Linked DNA regions of Homo sapiens: region 2 is linked to region 1. The links are contacts of gene promoters, found by promoter capture Hi-C in human tissues and cell types (Jung and others, 2019). All regions are on one chromosome and are shown on one strand. The core of a region is centred on a gene start or on the middle of the fragment in contact, and the rest is flanking DNA. Distances in the headings are between cores, read along the strand shown. Region 1 holds the start of ZNF70 (zinc finger protein 70). Region 2 overlaps DRICH1 (aspartate rich 1).

What was found. Contacts are between HindIII fragments. The study calls those that stand out against the background at their distance.
Region 2: a fragment that was not itself captured here is called in contact with the fragment with the promoter of ZNF70 in region 1 in 1 of the 25 tissues and cell types used here (lymphoblastoid cells).

Annotation. Positions count from the first base shown.
Region 1 is chr22:23,748,236-23,753,578 of GRCh38, forward strand. ZNF70 (zinc finger protein 70) reads right to left here and starts at 2,877. Exons shown (of 2, transcript NM_021916.4): 1 at 2,476-2,877. It overlaps VPREB3 (V-set pre-B cell surrogate light chain 3), which reads right to left. Exons shown (of 2, transcript NM_013378.3): 2 at 4,508-4,963. The coding sequence ends at 4,641. RefSeq lists a silencer at 2,593-3,042 and enhancers at 2,635-3,310, 3,193-3,252, 4,093-4,152, 4,663-5,336. The HindIII fragment of the contact is 11,413 bases long and covers 1-5,343 here.
Region 2 is chr22:23,607,067-23,612,409 of GRCh38, forward strand. It overlaps DRICH1 (aspartate rich 1), which reads right to left. Exons shown (of 12, transcript NM_016449.4): 12 at 1,386-1,702. The coding sequence ends at 1,698. Among named protein-coding and RNA genes, the nearest start is that of DRICH1, 23 kb to the right of the region's middle. The HindIII fragment of the contact is 7,781 bases long and covers 1-5,343 here.

The sequences.
Region 1 (5,343 bases), core at 1,627-4,126:
CTTGGAAAAAAAAATTTTTTTTGAGACAGGGTCTCACTCTGTCACCCAGGCTGGAGTGCAGGAGTAGAATCACAGCTCACTGCAGCCTTGACCTCCCCGGCTCAACTGATCCTCCAACCTCAGCCTCTCAAGTAGCTGGGACTACAGGGGCATATCAACACATCCAGCTAATTTTTTAATTTTTCTGTAGAGATGAGATAATATTATGTTGCCCAGGCTGGTCTTGAACTCCTGGGCTCAAGCAGTCCTCCCACCTCTGCCTCCCAAAGTGCTGGATTACAGGCATGAGCCACCATGCCCAGCAGAAATGATTTTTTTTTTTTTTTGAGGTGGAGTCTCACTCTTGTTGCCCAGCCAGGAGTGCAATGGCCCAATCTCGGCTCACTGCAACCTCTGCCTCCTGGGTTCAAGCAATTCTCCTGCCTCACCCTCCTGAATAGCTGGGATTACAGGCACCCGCCACCAGGCCCGGATAATTTTTGTATTTTTAGTAGAGATGGGGTTTCACTATGTTGGCCAGGCTGGTCTCGAACTCCTGACCTCAGGTGATCCGCCCACCTTGGCATCCCAAAGTGCTGGGATTACAGGTGTGAGCCACCACGCCCAGCCCAGAAATGATTTTTTTAAATGATTTTTCAGCCAATAGACCGACTGGATATAAAAAAAAAAGAGCACTGAACTAAAGTATTTTCTTTTTCCAGAATGGAGTGCAGTAGTGTGATTACAGCTCACTGGAACCTCTGGCTCCTGGGTTCAAGTGATTCTCCTATCTCAGCCTCTTAAGTAGCTAGGACACCATCCTGGCTAACACGGTGAAACCCTGTCTCTATTAAAAATACAAAAAAGGCCGGACGCGGTGGCTCACGCCTCTAATCCCAGCACTTTGGGAGGCCGAGGTGGGTGGATCATGAGGTCAGGAGTTCAAGACCAGCCTGGCCAAGATGGTGAAACCCCGTCTCTACTAAAATTACAAAAATTACAGCGCGTCTGTAATCCCAGCTACTCCGGGAGGCTGAGGCAGGAGAATCGCTTGAACCTGGGGGGCGGAGGTTGCAGTGAGCCGAGATCGCGCCACTGCACTCTAGCCTGGGTAACAGAGCGAGACTCCATCTCAAAAAAAAAAAAAAAAAAAAAAAAAAAAAAAAAGCCGGCCGTGGTGGCAGGTGCCTGTAGTCCCAGCTACTTGGGAGGCTGAGGCAGGAGAATGGCGTGAACCCAGGAGGCGGAGCTTGCAGTGAGCCGAGATCGCGCCACTGCACTCCAGGCTGGGCGACAGGACGAGACTCCGTCTCAAAAAAAAAAAAAAAAAAAAAAAAAAAGTAGCTGGGAATACAGGCTCTACAGGCACGTGCCACACCTGGCTAATTTTTGTATTTTTTGTAGAGATGGGTTTTCGCCATGTTGTGCAGACTGGTCTCGAATTTCTGAGCTCATGCGATCCACCCATTTTGGCCTCCGAAAGTGCTGGTATTATAGGCGTGAGCCCCCTCGCCCAGCCCTAAAGTATTTTCAAAAATTCTTTGATCACTTCAACTCCTCTCACCCTCCCCCTCCTCTTCAGCAACCCATAATCTCCAACTCTTCCAGCTCTCTCACTCAATTTGTGCTTTTCGACCTCATGAAATCCAAGCCATTTTTACTGTAGTTCTCCTTTTCTAGCTCCACCCCTTCTCCATCCAGCTTAGACTCTCCATACTATGCGCATCACTTCAACTCTCACGCTCTAGCACCATGCTCCTCACCTCCTCGTCCGGCTGCAACTAGCCGCTAAGTCCCAGTCTTCTCGGCCAGTTCCTCCTAAGTTGTTAAATGTTGCCAAGAAAAATCATACAACTATGTATGGCACCACGACAAATTTCGAGTTTCCGATTTCAGCTGGGACCTCAGCTCTGGCATTCTATGACCTCCTTATTGCCAATCCCTCTCTTCTCGGTCTTCACCTTCCCACCCCATCTGGCACTGCTCTCCAATACCTCCTTCTCAAAACCCTTCATTTCAGAGGTTGCAAATTGGCAGCCTGAAGATCCTGCTATGTTATGTTTGGCTCTCGAAGAGTTTGGCTTTTCCTGTTCATTTTCCTTAGTTACCAATATTTAAAACTCAGTAGGTTTCTGGCTTTCTCTTGAAAAACGAAGATGTGACAATATCCCTTCACCCGCCCACATTGCCTACCTAGGTGCATGAAAGCTTTGAGCTACCCCCCAACCCCATCCCCACCCTCGCTTTCTTCCCAATTTTCATGGCTTCCAAGTTCTCTTTCTTGATATCTTTAGATTGCAACTCTTCCTCCGCCCACCCATTAAGTCCTGGTGTTCTCAAACTTCCCTCCGTAGAGGTTTTCCATTCCCACTATATAGCCCCTACACCCTGAAGTCTCCACTCAGAAAAAAGTTGGCAACCCTTTATCTGTCTCCCACAACATGATAAGTGTTTTTGGACCGAAAATGCAAAGATCTGGAACTCCATGCTTCCCACCTCTGTCGGGGCCTTCTCCGGGTCCTCCTGCATCTGTCATCCCATCCTCCAGAGAGTCCCTAGGGCCTGGGCACCCTGCAAACTCTTAGTGCAGTCAAGGTTTCCTGGCTGGGGGCCCAAGAGTTGCCACGGACCCGCACACGCTGCCCAGGCGGCGACGTGGCGCCCCTACAGGCTTCCCCGCGATTGGGGACACGCACACCCAGGGCCACCGGAGGGACAGGTGGTCAGGCGGACTCAGGTCACACCGGCGGACGCGGGGCCACTCACCTGGGCCGGGGCGGGGCAGCTCACCTGGGCCGGGGCGGGGCCGCAGGCGGGCGGGGCGGGGCCGCACCTGAGCTGCTCCAACCCGCGGCCGACGCGGCCGACGCTGCCTGGCTCCACAGCAGCTGCTGACGCGGAGCCCGCGGCCGCCCGAGCACCCAGAGCCCCGCCCCCGGCCCGCGGGCACTTCCGGGACCACTCTAGGCCGCGCGGAGGTCCCGGCGTCTCGGTGGTCCCACCGCGCCGGTTGTCGCCGCGCGAAGCCGCCCGGGCCCCGGGACACAAGGACCCGAATCAGGAGAGTCTCTCCAGTCGGCATGGTGGCTCTGGCCGTCCCCGAAGCGCGTGCTGGACGTGGGGGAAACAGAGATGGGCAGGCGTTGGCAGGAGAGCAGAGGAGGAAACAGGTCCGGACGGGCGGGCCGACCTCGAGCCGCCGGCACTCGGGGCATCTGCGCTGGTGCTGGGTGCAAGCCAGAAGCCACTGAGGCAGCTGGGGTCTTCAGGGAAAGGAGAGTGGAGCCCCAGAGCTGTCGACCCTGTCACTGTCCACAGGCACCGGGGTCCTGTTAGGATCCCCCTCCCCCAACCTGCTTCAAGGGTAGCCCTGTTCCTGTCTGCCCTCCCCGCCCCCACAGAAATAGAGATGAGAAGGGGCAGGCGAAGAACTAGGAGTGTCTGCGAGACCATCCCAGGACCCTGAGCCCCCCAACTCTCTGCATCCCAGGGCTGACTTCGACATGAAGCGCCTCCTCTCAGGCGCACCGGGAGGGAAGAGGAATGTGTTCTTGAAATGGCCGCCCCCTTGGCCGGGCGCGGTGGCTCACGCCTTTAATCCCAGCATTTTGGGAGGCGGAGGCGGGTGGATCACGAGGTCAGGAGTTCGAGACTCAGCCAGACCAACATGGTGAAACCCTGTTTCTACTAAAAATTATCCGGGAGTGGTGACAAGCGCCTGTAATCCCAGCTACTGAGACAGGAGAATCGTTTGACCCTGAGAGGCGGAGGTTGCAGTGAGCCAAGATAGTGCCATTGCACTCCAGCCTGGGCGACAGAGCGAGACTCCATCTCAAAAAACAAAAAAAAAAAAAAGAAAAGGAATCTCCGCCCCCTCCTTGCTGCTGATGGCAAGACTGGCCCCTCCACCCAGTGTTCTGCCCATGACACCCCCCCCTCAGGTGCAGCTGCCCAGCTTGTGGGAGAGCTTCCCTCCGCAGACCTTGGCCCAATCACAGGACATCAGGAGAACACACTGTCCCTGGGAAAAAGGATTCTGCCCCAGCCGCCCACCTGCCTTCAGCACCCTCAGCCTTGGCGCTCGAGTGCCTCCAATGCTACCCACACACACCTGCCTTCCTGCCCCATTAATGCTCTGTCGGGCCTTGGGCACAGACTCCAAGGGGTAGGCAGTGGCTGCCCCTCCCCAAGCCAACAGCCTGAGCTCCATGGGGACCAGCCACCCTAGAGCCATAACCCTTGGACCATAACCAGCCATGCAGAGTTGGGGGCGGCAAGGGCTGGTTCCTTTTTCTCCCTCCGGCTCCTCAGGTCACAGGAAGGTCAGGCTACCAGTTTGAGCCCCCAGGGGGCCATGGTGGGGGAGTCTGGGCCATGCCCCAATAGTCTCAGGTGCTTCCTCTTTGACAACAGTCCCCAGAATCCCCATTCCCCCGCACACTGCTCCCCACCCCAGGAGTGGGTCTTCGACTCCCAGACCCACCACAGTCATTTTTCTCAGCCAGGATCTTATGACCCTCACAATAGCTGTTGTTGACATGTTGAATATTATTAACCCATTTTACAGAGGGGAAGCAAGGCTCAGAGAAAGTTTAAAAGGGACCCAAGGTCAGGGGCAGAAATGGGAGGCAGAGGGGAGGCACCCATCTCACACCCCACCCCTAGGGACTAAAGCCGTAGCCAACAGAGCAGTAGTAATCCGCGTCGTCTTCAGGCTGCACGGGACTAATGGTGAGGACACAGGCATTGTGGGCCTCATCCTTGGCTGCCGAGAATCGATCGGGGATGTCAGCAGGCCGGTGGTGATCCTCCTCCGAGCGGTAGTAGAGGAGATATCGAGGGGCACTGCCTGCCCGCTGCTGGTACCAGGACACACCGTAGTCCCTGATGGTGACGTGCTGGGGGCTGAGCGTGCAGGAGAGTTGAGCCACTTGGCCTGGGAAGACCAGCAGTGCATCCAGCTGGGCCAGGACTGTCTGGGAAACTGCGAGACACAAACCCACTCAGCCTGAGCCCCTTCCCTCCCACCCCTGCCCTGTGAAGGCTTGGTTGGACTCCATGGAGACTCCCAGTCCCAAAGGGCTCATAGCCCAGTGCTATGGGATTAGCAATGAACGGGGTGCAGGAGGCCTGGTTCTGTGTGACTTAGGGTGCCCTATCTGGACCTCCATCTCCCTTTGTGAGTGAGGGGTTTGGAGTTAGCCCCCAAATCTCCATTAGTGCCATATCCTCAAGGATCTGTGTTCAGTTAAAGGCCCAGAGCTCAGAAGGTTGGACTAGCAGCCTCTAGGTCCCTCTGCTACCCACCCACGTTTCTCTGCAGAACTGCACCCCTCTCCCCCACTTCCCCGCCCACTTCACTTC
Region 2 (5,343 bases), core at 1,331-3,830, 140 kb before region 1:
TCTGATCCGCTCACTGATGTGGAAGCTGTAGAGGGAGGAGCGTTCCGGGAGCTCGTCCTGGACCCGCTGTCTCCTGCCTGCAGGAGGATGCAGGAGAGGGTCTGGCACCTCCACCCCATGAGGAAGGCGAGAACAGGAGAAGCACTGGTGACGATCCTGACACCCAGTGGTCACTGAGTGTGTCCTGTGTGCCAGGCATTGTCTCCAAACCTCACATTTAGACAACCCTCCAGGGAGGCGATGTCTGCCTTCACAGGTGAGGAAACGGAGGCACAGTGTCTTGTGTCTCAGTCCAGGTCACATAGGATCACAGTCTACATCCTGGCCTCAAAACTGGGGGAGCACAAAGACTCAGAGCTTGCAGTGGTTGGGGAGTGTTCCCACACTGGGACCCTCATTGTGAGGATGGGCCAGTCACCGACCCCCAGAGTCCCTGCCTTGGCCGTGGCCATGTCCTCTTGCTGGCGGGGGCGGGGGGGGGCCTCTTGCCTTCCCTAAGTCCAGGTTTCTCTTTCTTCTGAGAGTCTCATTAGAGGCCCGGGTATTTCTCCAAGTGTGGCCCCTGAACCAGACCCTGGGTGGTCTGTGGAAATGCATGTTCCCAGGCCCCATCCCCGCCCCATCATTCTTAGGTTTGCACAGAGGTCCCTTTCCATGGGATCAGGAGAGTGGCTTTCCAGGAGAGAACTTTCTCTCTGAAAATGCAGCCTCCCCAGCCTCCCTGCATCCTCCTATGTCCACTGTGACCACCATCCTTGCCATCACTTTCTGTGTCATCCCCAAGGGGAGCTCCTGAGGACAAGGCTTTGCTCTGTTTGCTGCTCCAGACCCAAAGGTCACAGCAGGGGAGCTTTGGCCCCAAGTTGAGAATTACCTGGCCCAAAAGACTGCTGAGGTGGGGAAACCCAGCTCTTGCCTCAGCATCTCGCTGCATGAATGAATCAGGGAATCCCTGCAGCAGTGGGACAGGGTGGCACCTCCCTTTGAGACTCTGCAGGCACCAGGGTCAAAAGAGGGCTAGGGTGAGAGGGGGTGAGAAGAGGCCCCCCCAGGCTGTTAGAAATTCCGTGTTGGTGGCCTGCCGAGAAGTAGGTGGCCCTGGACGCACAAGCCATCAGCCTGCTCCTGAAGCTGCTACACTCATGCATGGGCAGGGTGTGCCTGAAGGCCACCAAGGCCCTCACCATGCTGCCAGAGGCCCCTGAGGGCTGCAAGGTCCTGCAGGCCCATATGCACACCTTCCGTGTCCTGGAGGAGGACTCTGACAGCAAGGCTTATGAGGGCGAGGCCTTATAGAAGGTGACCCAGATCGCCATCGATGTCATTGAGTGGAAACCCTGAGCCCCTCATTGGGTCAGACCTGATCAGCCACCTCTGCACCTGAATAAATGCACTCAGTCTCTTTATTTCAAGTGGGAATGGCACTTTCTGCTCGTGGAGCACAGTCACGTCTCTTCTCACTCTCTTGCCAAAGGAGAAATGCCAGGCCCAGAAGCACTGGGTCCTGGATGGTACAGGCCAAACCTAGTGCTGGCGGTGGGTGGGAAGCAGCCTTGGACTTTTTCTCTCTGCTGGGACCAAGAGTTTTCCTCAGAATGTAGAGAGGATTGAGACCTCCAGGGGCAAAGCTGGGGACCCTGCAGCACGCGCTGGCCTGCCCTTTGGGTCAGCACCCTGGTCAGCTCCACAGAAGGGCTTCACCCTGGATGAAGAGATAATCCCTTTTTAGTGAGAGCAGGCTCCCAGCTTTGTGCACTATGACATCATCCCACTAAGCAGCCTCCACGCCAGCATCCCTGGGCTCCCGCCTCTGCAGTCCAGGCTGAGGAGAAATTACAGATGCGGAAACTCATCAGCCAGGGACAGAGGTGCCTCTGTTACAAGGGGAGGGCCAGGAACACAGCCTATGTTGGGACCTAGAAGTCCTGAGCCCCACACCCTTGCCTCCATTCTCCAAGGCCCATTTACCGTTATCAGCTTCTGGGATTTAAGAAACTGCTGTCGGGAGAGGTATGGGAGCCAGCCTGGAAGAGGCAACTGGTCATTCAACTGTAGCCCAGAGGCACAAACTGACACCCCAGACAGCTGAGTTTGGACAAGGGCAGAGGGACAGCCAGTGGCTATAAGCCCACACTATGGAGGGAGGCTGCTGTGTTGAGACCCCCAGCTCTACACTGACTGTTTATCTGTGGAGTCTGGGGCAAGTTGATTAACTGCTCAGTGCCTCAGTTTCACTAGCTCTAAAGTGGGGCGAGTAATTGTGCCTATCATAAATGGGTATGATTTTGGCAGTGCCGGGGGCATCATACTGAAAATAAGTGCCTTGTACATTGTGGGTACCCAGGAAGCCAGTTTACAGCCCCTCAGAGGAGACCCATCAGCAGGCATCTGAGGGAGCCTGGAGCCCTGCATCCTGCAGGTGCCTGGGGTCTTGTGCCCAGGAGAAGCTGCTCCCTCACTCCACAGCAGTCTACAGAGCACCCCCTGACCAGGGGTACACCTGTTTGTGCAGGTGTCAGCAGGGAGCCCTGGGCCTCTCTGGGCTCTGACTTTCCCTGGCAGGACTGTAGAGGGCCCAGAACCCTGCCTTCTCCCAGCCAGGCCCTTCCCTCCCTTCCCCAAACTCACGGCCTCCTCACCGCTCTCTGCCTCAGATTCAGGACTAATCTCACTATGTCCTTCATCCCTGTTTGCATCAGGGGCTGCAAGAAGCTCAGCTCACCTCTCCCTCAAGGCCATGAATACTCCTTTTCTGACCCCATCTGCTGCAACCTTTTCTCCAAGCCCTCTGGAGGCCCTCCCTGGAACATTCTTTCCTTTCTTGCTTGGACTGAAACCTAGCTCTCCCAAGACCTGCTTCCCCTCCCTGGGCATCCTCCTATGTGGGGCTGCTTTCCTCCCTCCCTGCCCCTCATGCCTTCACTGGAGTGGGACAGGTCCTTACGAACCATCTCCTATGCCCGTTCTGAGGAGCCCTCTGGTTCTGAATCCCTGCACAAGCTCTGTTGCCCTGGCCGTCTCTCCTCCCCAGCACCACACCACCAGATTGCTCTTGTAGGGCACGACGTGGTCTCCATGTGGCTGAGCCCAACCGCCAGTCCTCAGGCCTCATGTTTCTTTGGTCATGAGGATTTCCTCACCTCACCACCTCCCCGTCCCTGAAACACTTCCAGGAAATGAGGCCACTTCTCTGCAATTTTGGTTGTTCAGTAATGTGCTATTGTGCTCTTTAAGAAACTGATACACATCTTGGTGTGTTTAAGCCTTTAGGGAAGTGGGAGGATACTGGGGGCTGCTGTGTGAGCACCTCTATGCCATACCAAGTAAGACCAGTGAGGGAAACTGGACCGCTAAGCTGCAGGGCTACCTCCCCCTCCAGGATGCTTTTCACATCTTCCAAGATCCCCTCACTGGAGATCTTCCATGGCCTGGACTCATCTTAGGCCTCCCTGTTCTGTCCATGTGCTACTGGGGTGCCTGCCGATCAGATAATTGGTGATGCTGTCACTGAACTGACTGCCCGCGGGGACTCGTGGTCTTTGGCATTCCAGGCTCCACCACAGTCTCTGCATCCACAGGCAACTGTGGTCCTGGCTGCTCTCTGCTGTTAGGTTTCCCTTCCATTTTTACTTATTGCCTAAAGAACTTCATACAAAACTCTACTTAAAAGCAGTTTATTCCACAGTCCCACATAGAACACATCAACTATTTTAATTTTTTTCTTCTTTCCTATCACTGTCTAAAAGCACTCTTTTTTTTTTTTACATAGTAAGACCCAGTGTGGTTGACTGTATCTAATTTTTAACCTATTATTAGATGGGCAAAATTTTTTTTTTTTTTTTTGAGACAGAGTCTGCTCTGGGTGATTCTCTTTGATTCTCTCTGTTCTCATTCCATCACATGCTCTATGGACGCATAACCCTTCAATTGCACTCATATAACCTGTCAGTAACTTTTCACTCCCTGAGCCAAGAGCTTCTCCTTCCAAGCTTCAGCAAGACCAATTTCTGACCCATGGAGCAATGGGTAACACCAGCCTCACCGAACTCACATGCCCAGTTGTGGAAGCAAATTTCATTTTATGGTAATTCTATTTTGCCAGTACAGGCGGTGTAGCACGTTAGTTTATAGGTTAACCTTTGGCGTTAAAGAGATCCAGCTCTTGGCGTGTCTCCTGAGTAATTTACTTAACTGAGACCCACATTCCCCATCTGTATAATGACTAAAACAAAACTAATTCTGTCTCAAAGTGATTGTGACACTTCAAGGAGACAACATACAGAAGTGCCCACATACCCAATTTATGGCTGTTCTTATTTTCATTCATTTTTTTTTTTTTTTTGAGATGGAATCTCGTTCTATCACCCAGGTTGGAGTGCAGTGGGCATGATCTCGGCTCACTGCAAACTCCGCCTCCCAGGTTCACGCCATTCTCCTGCCTCAGCCTCCCAAGTAGCTGGGACTACAAGCGCCCACCACCACACCCAGCTAATGTTTTGTATTTTTAGTAGAGACGGGGTTTCACTGTGTGAGCCAGGATGGTCTCGATTTCCTGACCTCGTAATCCGCCCACCTTGCACCTGCTTATTAACTACAGCCATATGTAGCAGAATGACATTTTGGTCAATGACAGAACACATGTATGACAGTGGTCCCATAAGATTATAACAAAGCTGAAAATTTCCTTTTCCCCAGTAAAGTCGTACCTGTTAGAAGGTCGGCGCAGTGCATTACTTACGTGTCTGTGGTGAGGCGGGTGTAAACAAACCTACTGCGCTGCGTCATTACAGTAAAACAACACTTCTTTTTGGAGAACATTTTAAGTAATATGTTATACAAATGACAGACTAACCACAGTGATGGAATTTTTAGAAAGAGATAAAACTAAGAGTCCGTGAGGATTTGGAGAAACGGCTACTCACATATGCTGTTAGAGGAGCATGAATTGGTGTCATCATTTTGGAAAAAGTTTGGCATTATTTATAACAATGAAAGATATGCCCCCTTCTAACAGTCTACTCCACAAAAGTGAGTGCTGGTGTTATTCCAAAACCACTGACAAAAATACTCAAAGCACCATTACTTGAGATAGCCACAATTACATTAAAAATAACCCTGGCCAGGCATGGTGATACATGCCTATAATCCAAGCACTTTGGGAGGCTGAGGCGGGCAGATCGCCTGAGCTGAGGAGTTCCTGACTAGCCTGGCCAACATGGTGAAACCCTGTCTCCACCAAAAATACAAAAAATTAGCCAGGCATGGTGGTGGACACCTGTAGTCCCCACTACTCGGGAGGCTGAGGCACGAGAATGGCGTGAACCCGGGAGGCGGAGCTTGCAG